Regions from separate parts of the Homo sapiens genome. Here region 2 is linked to region 1. Evidence: promoter capture Hi-C in 16 types of primary human blood cells and fetal thymus (Javierre and others, 2016). All regions are on one chromosome and are shown on one strand. Each heading gives the region's core, a stretch centred on a gene start or on the middle of the fragment in contact. The rest is flanking DNA. Distances are from core to core; before and after follow the strand shown. Region 1 holds the start of CSMD3 (CUB and Sushi multiple domains 3). Region 2 has its middle 400 kb from the start of CSMD3.

Evidence for each region. Contacts are between HindIII fragments. The CHiCAGO score rates a contact against its expected background, and 5 or more counts as called.
Region 2: a fragment that was not itself captured here is called in contact with the fragment with the promoter of CSMD3 in region 1 in 1 of 17 cell types (total B cells); the score reaches 5.2 in total B cells.

The regions. Positions count from the first base shown.
Region 1 is chr8:113,432,758-113,438,304 of GRCh38, reverse strand. CSMD3 (CUB and Sushi multiple domains 3) reads left to right here and starts at 1,366. Exons shown (of 71, transcript NM_198123.2): 1 at 1,366-1,628. The coding sequence starts at 1,451. LOC105375709 (a long non-coding RNA gene) reads right to left here. Exons shown (of 2, transcript XR_928544.3): 2 at 5,175-5,547. RefSeq lists enhancers at 1-432, 445-494, 2,272-2,782, 4,712-5,215, 5,216-5,547 and 1 more. The HindIII fragment of the contact is 6,354 bases long and covers 1-3,056 here.
Region 2 is chr8:113,836,950-113,842,975 of GRCh38, reverse strand. No RefSeq gene overlaps it. Among named protein-coding and RNA genes, the nearest start is that of CSMD3, 400 kb to the right of the region's middle. The HindIII fragment of the contact is 1,690 bases long and covers 3,524-5,213 here.

The DNA of each region.
Region 1 (5,547 bases), core at 117-2,616:
AGCTGGCCAGGGTAATGCTGTGGTGCACGGGACCAAACCCATTATTTGTGCACAGTGCAGGGAGCTGCAAACTCAAGTTGGGCAGTCCTCTAGACTAAGCCTTGTTGATAGACGCTCACGCCCATGATAGCCTGAGGCAGTTAAATGGAGCCACACGCAACAGCAATATCCTGTTTCAGAACTAGCGCTGTGGCACTCCCCACTGCTGAGAGGGGACCAGATTCCCGAAAAGGTCAGATCACCAATCAGTTGCCTAATCTAAGGAACTTGTTCATTGAAAGATTTGGGCCAGGACCGTGGTCGAAAAAAATCAAGGAGCACGACATACTGGTCCCGGGGACACAGCTCCCCTGACACCAAGGGATGGCAAAAACAGGGTCCCTTATACATGCGAAGGAAGAACGGGCGGCTCGGAGACGGCCAGTAGATGGCGCAAGAACTCTTCCCTTGTGCAATCTTAACCCTTGCGTGGTGCATGGGGGAAGCAGATCCAGATGTATAGATACATACATTTTTCGTTTTGAAAGAAACCTCCTATTTACATATTTGGTACCGATTCAGAATTAAGACAAATGGGTTTGTTCTAGATAACTACCACAGATAAAGTAGTTTAACTGCGGCACACACAAACTGAAAAGGGGGTTGGGAGGATGAAAGGGAGAACTATTTGAGGAAACGACATTGACTTCCCTCCCCACCCCACCCCCGCCCAGGCCACGGATGAAATCCGTTTCCCGAATCATAAAAACCCGGTGAAGGGTTTACACGTAGTTATTTGAGTATGTAAATACATGTGTTCAAATACATTCTTTTCCGTGTGAAGGCAGAATTTATTGAGAAAATTCTCTGTGATTTCCTTTTTCAATTAAATCACAGGATAATAAATGGGAGAAGCCTGCCTGAAATATACTGCAACTACAGTAGTAACACATGTCCCATTATAACGACGTGGGCATCGATGGAGCCCGATTCATTATCGTCACGGTTTCCCCAAAAGCAACACAGATCCTCCGATTAAAATATTCCTTTGACATGCTTCTGTATTCGCAGCCTGCAACGGAGAGCTCACTAACATTATTTCTTGGGCTGCTTTTACAGGCAGAATTGATCTATTCGGGGAAAAAAAGCAAGCCCCTTAATTTCAAATATTGTGTGGAGTTTATCAGAGAGCAGAGGTGGGCTTTAAGAGGCTCACTAGTGGTTTCTGGTGGTTGCTATAACGAGCCAGAATTGGGGTAGATTTTGGTGGAGGGGAAAAAACGCACAAGAAAAGACAGAATCCAGAGTAGCGGAGACTTTGTGCCCCCGTTGGAGAGATGGTTGAGTCCTCGTCAAGGTTGCTGTGGTATCCCAGAAACACCATTCACTCCGAGCTGTGACCGCGCACCAACAACAGCAACAACTCCACTGCGCCGGGCTGAGGAGCAGGAATTAGGAGCTCGCGAATAATATGAAAGGGATCCGCAAAGGGGAAAGCCGAGCAAAGGAATCCAAACCCTGGGAGCCTGGCAAGCGAAGATGCGCTAAATGTGGCCGCCTAGACTTCATCCTGATGAAGAAAATGGGGATTAAAAGTGGATTTACGTTTTGGAACCTCGTCTTTTTATTGACGGTGTCTTGTGTGAAAGGTAGGTCTGCTTTGGGGGTCCCCTCCGCTTTGGATGGAGGTGGGCTGACTTGTAGATGGAGAGAGGCTGGCAGCTTACTTTGCAATTTGCACCGATAAAATAATCTGATAATACTAAAGGAGTTGATTCACAGCTCGTTCTCCCCCCCTCAGATAGGAAATGCATTTTGCTTGCCAGATTTGGCGTTCAATGCGGTGATTGAGCTTGTGCTCAATAAATATTCTTGCAGTATGCTCAAACGAATACGTGAGTTGGTTAGTATAGCCTCTAACTAGTGGATATCCAGGCAGAATTCCTCTGCAAGACTTTTCTTAGTGGTGAGGATTACCTTGATTTCTTGTCAGATCACTAGGGCTTGAGGCTTTGGGTGGAATATATATATTAAAGACGCTGGTCTAAATGCTTTTTAACCCTTTCAGGGAAGAAAGTTATCGACGTGCTAGGAATGTGTTGATTTTAAATGCATTAGGGCACAGGGATCTTCCAAGCACTGCCACATCAACATGAATGTCTGCATGCATATGTATGTAAATTGGGCTTCTATGCAATGTTAAATGTAGGGGAGCTTCCCTAGGACCTGTGGTAGAGGTTTGGCAAAAAATGAGGCTTTCGAAGGGTCTGAAATGCCATGAAGTGTAAAGAACCACCTTAAGGGATGAATGAGGTAGGAGGAAAGTCATTAGCTGACGACCAAAAGAAAATCCCCAGCAAGTCTCAGCGTTCAGACAGGTAGAGTGAGTGTCACATGCACAGATAGGGGAGGGGGTAGGTGGGATGTAAAAATGTATTCCCAAGCAGGAAGGCAAGGGACAGTCAGGATCATGGGAAAAAGAGCTGTCCTTAGGGAGAAAATAGATCCATAGCTCTCTTCCACAACTTCTCCGGCACCCTGCTGCCCATTAATTGCTGCAAAGAATACTCAGGAGGTGTTTATGACTCATGCCATCATTTTTTGAACAATCACCTCTCCATACTCATGGCAGCTCGAATAGACGCTATGGATGCCGCTTTCAGTGAAGCTAGTTTCAAATCCCGGGTGTCTGTGTGTCGCGGGGGGGCGGGGGATCGCGGGAAAGGGGGTGCTGTTTTGGCCCAGGCGCGCCAGGGCTGTCAACACAAACTGGACGCTTCTTCCTTTGTAAAGGAGTGCCTCTCTGAACTGCAATCGGGCCGCGTCTCTATGAAACAGTTTATTGTCCAGCTTGCAGCTGGCTGTCCCCCCACGGAAGGCAGCTCATTTGCATTCAGTGGAAATGATAATTCATGTTTTGGGAGGAGGGAGCTGGAGAGGTTACCTTTCCCTCTACTATAACCAATGATGGGTGGCATGTCTAGAATTTTAATTTACATCCCAAAATGCCAGGAAGTCAGTCGCCCCGGTCTCTGTGGCAGCAACTGCCTTGTAATCCCAACCTGCTCCTTGAAGCTTGATTTTTCTTTTCTCTCTGGGGCCTCAGAGCAGCTCTGAGCCGAAAAGCTTGTCCTAAGTGGCACAACTACACTGCCAAATGTACAAAGCACGGCTCAGGTTGCTTACAAGGTTTCTTTGTCGCTGGCTCGACGGGTGAGGAGCCACACATTTATGCTTAGTTCGCCTGCCACTGGGAGTTGGTGGTTAATGGATGGCCCTGGGGCTGCCTGCTAGACGCGCGCTTCGCGTGGGGGAGGCGCGAATAGCCAGCAGCAGCCCTGGCAGAAAAATGTAAGGGTGGCTCCTGTGAGAAGATGACCAGGGTTTAAGTGCGAGTTTTCATGTGATACCTGTTGAGCCAAAACACATTCGGGGGCAGATGAGGGGGAGGGAAGTCTCCGAAGCGGGGCGAGCATTACAGCCTGACTAACGCTGATCCGCGCCGCCTGCAATTAGAGCCCCGGCTGCCCGCACCTACCGTATTTTCCGAATGAGATGCGCCGATAGAAAGGAAAGGCGCGTTAATTTACTTTGGACTGATATAATCGGTTTAGCTTTGGAGATATTGAGAAGGAAGAGTATGTCATAGCCTTCTTTGATCCTGTGCAAAATCAATATTCTACAGACTATACGTAAAAAACATTTTTTTTCAATGTCAATAAAGTTATTGTCACTCATCGGGCACTTGGAAGGCATCTCCTACATTTTACGACTTGGAATACTGTCCCCAAATTCTGAGAAATTTGCATAGGTTTTATGTTTTAGACCTGCTGTCAATCTCCGAATGATGCCAATTTTGATAGTTGCTTTTTACTCTCCCTTTCCTCATTTTATTTTAATTTCACCTGTCTCAAGGCTTTCCTAAAGCCAAGATTGATGCAATGCCTTAAACATTGTTTGCCCCAATGTCTATGCTCGCTTTTGTCTTCTACACTTTCTTCTGGAATGTGAGGTCCATGAAAAACCTCAGACTGGGGAGCCGTTGTAAGGATTTTGCAGGTTCTAATCTAGACTAGCGTGAGGGTCCAGGAAGTCCGAGGCAGGCAGTTTTCCACGTGAACAGCTCTAGCCACGAGAATTACACCATCTGCCTACAGTTTTCATCCCTCCACCATCTCACCTTTGCGTTCAACAGCAATGACAAAGAGGCTTAGTGGGAGGAAACGCCTCGGAGTGTAAGATAAAGTGGTCTTAGGTAGGCCTGAACCACTCGGGTGGGGCTGAAAAGGAAAACAACCTTTCCTTGGCATTTCATTTCCACTGTCATGTGAAATAAAAGGCTGTGGAGAGCACCAAACTGAGGCGTGGGACAGGGCAGGTGCTGCCTAGACTTGATCCATGCCTATTTCAAACTGAACTCCCCTCCCCCGCACCCCCCACACAGGTACACACGCACACACACACACAGGCAGAGGTTTCTGAAATGCCTCCAGCTGCAGCGTGTCTGTTTAGGTCTCACCCAGATAGAAACTGTGAATCTCCAAGTCGTGCTTAAGCGTCCCGCCCATGTAAAGAGACATCCATGGGATGTTTTCCCACGCTGCTTGTCAGTGGATCCCAGGGGAACACACACCGTGCAGCGAAGGTACCGCGAAGGCACAGATCTCTGGGTAGGCAGCAGGTGGGAGACCGGGTGCGGCGTCGCGCACCCCACGCCAGAGCGTCTTTCCAGGGATTCTCGCCAGAGCGACTTCGCGAAGGATCCACGTTTCTGCGTGCTCTGAGACTCCAAGGAGATACTACTCCTGCCACAGAGGTCTTTTGGAAAAGTGGAAATCGCATCCTCTCCCGCAGTTAGTTGCTACTGGAGAGGGGCGCGGGTGTCTTATGAGGGGGAAGAGCTGCCAGAGGCACTCATTAGCACCTTTTACAGACGCCCGCCCAGGTGGCCATGTCCGGAGCTTTCAGCCCCGCGTGTGTCCCGGGGACTGACACCCACAGTCCTCGCCCATAAGGCGACAGTCTTTCCCAACACATCAGGAAAATATCTGTCTCAGCTTGAGAGAGCTTTACAAAGGGGGCTGAGGGAAGGGAAATCAATGTCTTTTCAAAATAATAACAGCAAACAAAAACCCACCTAGACAAAACCATTATCAAAACCCTTCCCCCAACACTAGCAAGACTGAGAAACCCACTGAAAGGTAACCTTTGTATTTGAGTCAGGGCCCCCTCCTGCTGTAGTTTGGACAGGCGCCCCTCCCTTACATCTATTTCCTGTGGGAATACTCATTAATTTCTTCAAGAAGATCAGCCTCCCTGAATTTTCATGGACAACCCGAAGTTGAAACTGGGTGGCTGACTTGGCTGTTGATGTGCGTGTGTGCGTGTGTGCTGCTGGGAGGAGGACACATGAATTGACACGGAGAAACCTTTAGGAGTCTCCGAGGGTGGGTGTGAGTGTGTCCTAGGCGGAAACGCCTGGCGGGTAACAGCGCTTTAATGTTCCCAGGACTCCAGATGGCCAGTGGCGCTGCGACCACTGCTGTCACGATGAAGTAGAAGTGCGGA
Region 2 (6,026 bases), core at 3,119-5,618, 400 kb before region 1:
CCAGTGGGTAAAGTTCTCTGCTCAGAATATTACAAGCCAGGAATGAAGGTAATGGTGGGCTGTATTCTCATTTAGAGGCTTGAGAAAGAAAGAATGCATATCCAAGTGTATTTGTGTTGCCAGGAGAATCTACTGCCTTGCAGCTATAGGTCTGAGATCCCTGTTCCCCTGCCGGCTCTCACTCTGTGCCATTCAACTCCAAGAATTTGCTCACATTCCTTGCCATATGACTCCCTCCAACTTCAAATATAATAATGAATCATGGAATCCTTCTCTTGATTCAATCTTTCAATTCCTTTATATCTGACCTCCAGACCAAGATTTAAAAGGTTTATGCAGTTAGACCAGTCCTACCCACATAATCTACCTTTTAAAAATCAATGGTGCCATAAATAAACCTAATTACCTGAATAAAATCTATTTTATTCACATTCCCAGGGTTATGCAGGGCATGTATATAATGGGGCAGGGCTCTTGGGGCCATTTTGAATTCTTCCTATCATATATTTTTTTTAATTTTAATATATTTTTCCTAATTCTTCACACAGCTGGATCTCTATTGAAAAGTCATCTTTTAGACAGAAAGTAGAAAGAAGTTATTGGCCACCCAAACAAAACTCTTTCCTTGCCCAGTCACTCTTTAACAGATAACTTGTTTCATCTAATTATATAATTTTAATTACTTCACCTTTTAATGTATTTATCTTTTCATTTGTATATATATATTAATTTCAATTCCCTAGAATCAGAGAAAGATTGTCAAACCTCAATGCAGCTTTATCTCTAGTATATAAAATGGTGATAAACATGCAATAAAGCCTTACTGACCAAATATGCAATTCCCAAATTTAACATTTATGGAAGAAAATTATCTCCTGAACTATAAGCTGGTATTTCCAACTGCTGTCTGGGTAGATGTACCTATGAGTTCTTTATCAACCTTATAGTAAATCTGTCAAAATACAAGTCATTGTATATATGTTTAATACCTTTATTCACATTTTATACATTGTCTATACCTACATTATCTGTTTTTGTTAGTGGCATGTGAATCCTTCCTAATACCTAACCAAGAACTGAAAAGAAACAAACAGTAATCTAGAGACAATAAAAAGATGTTTAATTTATTTTCCATAAACACTGAATTTGCTATTTTTTCTAATTTTACACATACTATGAATGATCTGATCTTGGACAAGTAAGCTGCCACATATTGCCTCTTGAATTAGTTCCAAAATGTTTAAAATAAGCACCGCTCACTCAAAATAGGGGTTCCACAGAAAAACTTGAAGACAGATTACAGATGTGATTCCTGAAAATATTTTTCTCTCGTTCTGCTGAAGAAGTAGGACTTGGTAAATTTATAAATATTAAATTTAGAATTCCAGTGAAATAATAGTTTTTAAAGGAGGTGAGTATGAGAAGGGGAAACTATGATAGTAGGAGATATTAAAAATAGGGAAAAAAATTTAAAGTAAAATTAGAAAAGATACTTTCCTGTGCTGCATAATGACGTTTCAGTCTATGATAGACCACATACCCAACAGTGGTCCCATAATATTATAATGGAGCTGTTTTATGTATGTGTATCATTTTTAAAATCATTCATACTATATTGTTACTGTATCTTTTATATGTTTAGATATGTTTAGATACATGAATATTTACCATTATGTTACAACTGCCTAAAATATTCCATGTAGTAACATGCTGTACAGGTGTGTAGCCTAGGAGCAAAAGGCTATATAGCCTAGGTGTGCAGTTGACTGTACAATCTAAGTTTGTGTATGTGCATTCTATGACATTCACACAATAATGAAATCACCTAACTATGCATTTCTCAGGGTGTATCTCCATTGTTAGGTAAGGCACAACTATGTATTTTTTCAATATTCAATATAGAGCCACAACTTTTTCAAATTAAAAATAATTTCTTACATTAATATAGTTAAAGCTAGATTATCAACAATGTATAGATATATATTATTTTAATTTATGAAATCATATATATCTACATTATATACAGAAGTATATGGGTATAGATATATACTTATTATACATGTGCTCTTTTTTGAGACGACAAAGAGTTTATATAATATATATTTTTTCAAAAATTTGACTCAGATTTTTAAACCTAAATTTATTTCAAGTTGCAAAGTTTAATTGTCTGTTTCAATGGATAATAAAATCAGCCTAAAGAAGCTGTTATTAATTAGCTGAAATTCCACCACTGAATGCTTCATTTCTCACCTTTTTTCCCTGTTTCTCTTCATTTAACTTGTTTTTTTGCACTTCAGTTGTTTATATTAATTTTAGCAAAACTTTTACCAAAGATACTTCATAATTCCATAGTTTATTGACCACGCTCAACTTTTGGAGAATACCAATACACATTTCAAAGTAAGGGGCACAACACAATGGCAATAGAGTTTCCATTAACTTATGCTTGATTTTTTTTTTTTGCATAACCTGAAAAAGTAGTTTCCCATTGCTAATCCTTATACATAGTCATACATCAATGACTGCCTCTCTATCCCAGAGTAAAAATAGATGCTCAGTTCTCTTACTTGTGGAAAGGCTCAATAACTGTAGTTAGCACCTTAACCTCAGAATGCCAAAATTATTTTTATTTTGTTGTTAAGGTATATCTCCCTCTTTTTGTGCCCAAATCTCCTATTTTACTAAAGGAAGCTCAGACTACATATAACATGGTTTACATCATGAAAACAGCACTCATAGGGAACCATGTGGTTTTAGACTGATAAATAATTTCATCAGCTAGCATATTTTGAACTGTTATACAAAGATTTTTAATGACTTATTCATAAAAATGTAATTCTTTTGTAGGCAAATATATTAAACAACAATCAGCAACAAAAATGGTGATCATAAATTATCCTAAAGTTTCCCATAGAAGGGAATTTATCTTTGCTGGTTTCTTATACAGCTGAAAAACCGAGAGGCACAAATTCACTTAGCCTGCAATAAAAGTGCAAAGTAGTAGGATTTTGGAGACCGATGCTTAAGCAAAGACTACAGATAATTTGACTTTTTTTTCACTTCTGTAGTATAATTTGAACTGAGGAAATAGAAGACTCTCATTTCTAAGAAGCCTTACTTGCTCAAATTCCTGAAATTTCATCCAATGGGATTTAAGTTCATTAATTTGGATTTAAGAATTGTGTCCTTCCAGTCTCCTAAGTTTTAATACATTTTTGGAGTGTGATTATTAGATCACATTTTAGGGATATGAGGGAGGAAATGCCAGGTGGGGGGCCAGATGAAGGGCTCAACCCAAACCACCCTCCCTGTTGAGGATGGGGTATCACAGACACGTCTGCCAGAGAGCCAAGAGAGTATTTGTACACTGAGTGTCAGAGGAACATGGTCTCTACTATTTGAATACTATCAACACATGTGGTCAAGTGCCCAAAAAATTATATATGCCTAACAATTCTACTCAATGGTGGCTTGGTAAGACCCATTTCCACAATTAACAAGGGTGGTGAATATAGTAAAAGCTTAAAGGAAAATGCTGCATAGTGTTTTAAAGCACATAACTCTTTCTAATAAATATTATCACATTTGAGGCAGTATAATAGCCTATATGATGAGTGGAAATCTGTGTGATACAGACCTATATTAAAATTCTAGCATCAACATTATTATGCATGTAATACTTGCTAAATTAATTTCTGTAATATGCAGTTTTCTATTGTTAAAAATTAAGAATAATGATAACAACAGTAAATATGACAAATAAAAACAATCCTGGACTTAAGTAAAGATAAATTTTATTTTAAAAGGCTGTGGTAATAGAGAGAAAGCTCTGACAACAAGATCTGCAATCACCTCAATATTCAACAGAAAATTTTGGCTGGGAGCGGTGGCTCACACCTGTAATCCCAGAACTTTGGGAGGCTAAGGCAGGCAGATCACAAGGTCAAGAGATCAACACTATCCTGGCCAACACGGTGAAACCCCATCTCTACTAAAAATACAAAAGTTAGCCAGGTGTGGTAGCACATGCCTGTAATCCCATCTATTAGAGAGGCTGAGGCAGGAGAATCACTTGAACCCTGGAGGCAGAGGTTGCAGTGAGCTGAGATCACAGCACTGTACTCCAGCCTGGGTGACAGAGCAAGACTCCATCTCAAAAAAATAAATAAATAAATAAAAATAAATACTTAAATAAGTGGCTGTGGTAATAGAGAGAAAGCTCTGACCACAAGATCTGCAATCATTTCAATATTAAACAGAAAAAGGTCCCTTTTTATAAGGACATGTAAGAAGGACTAGCAGAAGTTTTGGGGACAGGAACAGTGTAATGAATGGAAAGAATGATTGAGGTGTTCTAATAGGAAATGTTTCCCTCTGGTCAGAAGTTTTTGAAAAGGGCATTTAATGGTGAGGGTAGGCTGTATTCTGCACATTTGTGCTTATTTAAACTTACGGGCAAGTGAAAAAAGTTCAAGGTTCTGTGGGAAAGAGAGAAGCCTGTTTAGTCAAGGCAAGTTATTAAGTAGTAGATAAATTGTAAGCATTTTGTTAGGTAGCTGAGAAGTCTAAATGAGACATTTTGCTCACAACATTGGTTGGCTATTGTTACATAATTATTTTGGAAATGTAGAGAGTATCAAGGTATCATTAGCACCATTACAAAGTAAACATTAAAAAATAGGATTAAGAGGTTATTGTTTTTATTATTTATGTTTGTTCTGGTATTGATATAGAGAGAATTAAAGTTTCTGTCTCTCTCTTTTTTTTTTTCCTGAGACGGAGTCTCGCTCTGTCGCCCAGGCTGGAGTGCAGTGACACGATCTCGGCTCACTGCAAGCCCCGCCTCCCGGGTTCACGCCATTATCCTGCCTCAGTCTCCCGAGTAGCTGGAACTACAGGCGTCCGCCACTATGCCCGGCTAATTTTTGTATTTTTAGTAGAGACAGGGTTTCACTATGTTGGCCAGGCTAGTGTTGAACGCCTGACCACGTGATCCACCCACCTCGGCCTCCCAAAGTCCTGGGATTACAGGTGTGAGCCACCATGCCCCGGCCAAGTTTCTGTTTATTCTTATGGCGCAAAAACGGTCATTCAATTAAGCTGACTATAGTGCAAGCAAAAGGAAATGTTATCAAAAGTATTTTAAATACTTGTTATAACTGTAGCACAGACTGCTTAAGAATCAATTCTATGGGTATTTTTAAAGCTAAGCTTTTATGTCTGCTTGTAAACATGTGATTGCTTTTTAGAATAACATATGAGACATGATATTAAGTGTGTCCTCAAAGCGTCAAGTTTTTTTTCTCAACTTCTATGTATAAAATATATTCATGTTTAAAATGACACTACACAACAACGTATATATTTGGAGGAAAGACTGACATTTCCTTTTCTGTATAAATGTTAGCTTTCTACACTTACAGTTTTGCATTGCAGGGTACCTTAAAGAGAAAGCAATTATTGTCTCCAAAGTAGATCATCTTCTGACAATGGTGTTTGTGAAATGCTAGCCTTCTAAATGAAACATTACAGATACCAGAGGATATCAATTAATTTTTAAATTTCAAGAATAACACTGAAAGGTGGTATTTTTTTTACTACTATACTTCCTCTGTACATTTGGCACATGTATTACTTTAGAACTGCATTTTGCAGCCTGACAATTTTTATAATTAGAAAATACTTGATTTTTTAGGCAAAATTGAGTTCTAAAATAATACAAAAGTATAACATGGCAAATATTCAAAAAATGAATGTTCTTCAAATAAGTGTTATTATTTCTATATTAACAACACTGTTCCAAATATATTTGGTATAACTTTACAAGACTGCCACTGAAAATTAGCTTCTGAACTCTACTGGCACAAAAACTTGTCCCTACTGTGTGAACACGCAGTTCTGAAAAGCTGTACCTGCAGAGTTGATGAGATTATATAATGTTGGAAGTCTTGAGGTGTTGAAGTATAGGAGCTTATTTAACTTTCTACTTGGAAAGTTTTATGGATTTCTAATTTTATCAGATACAA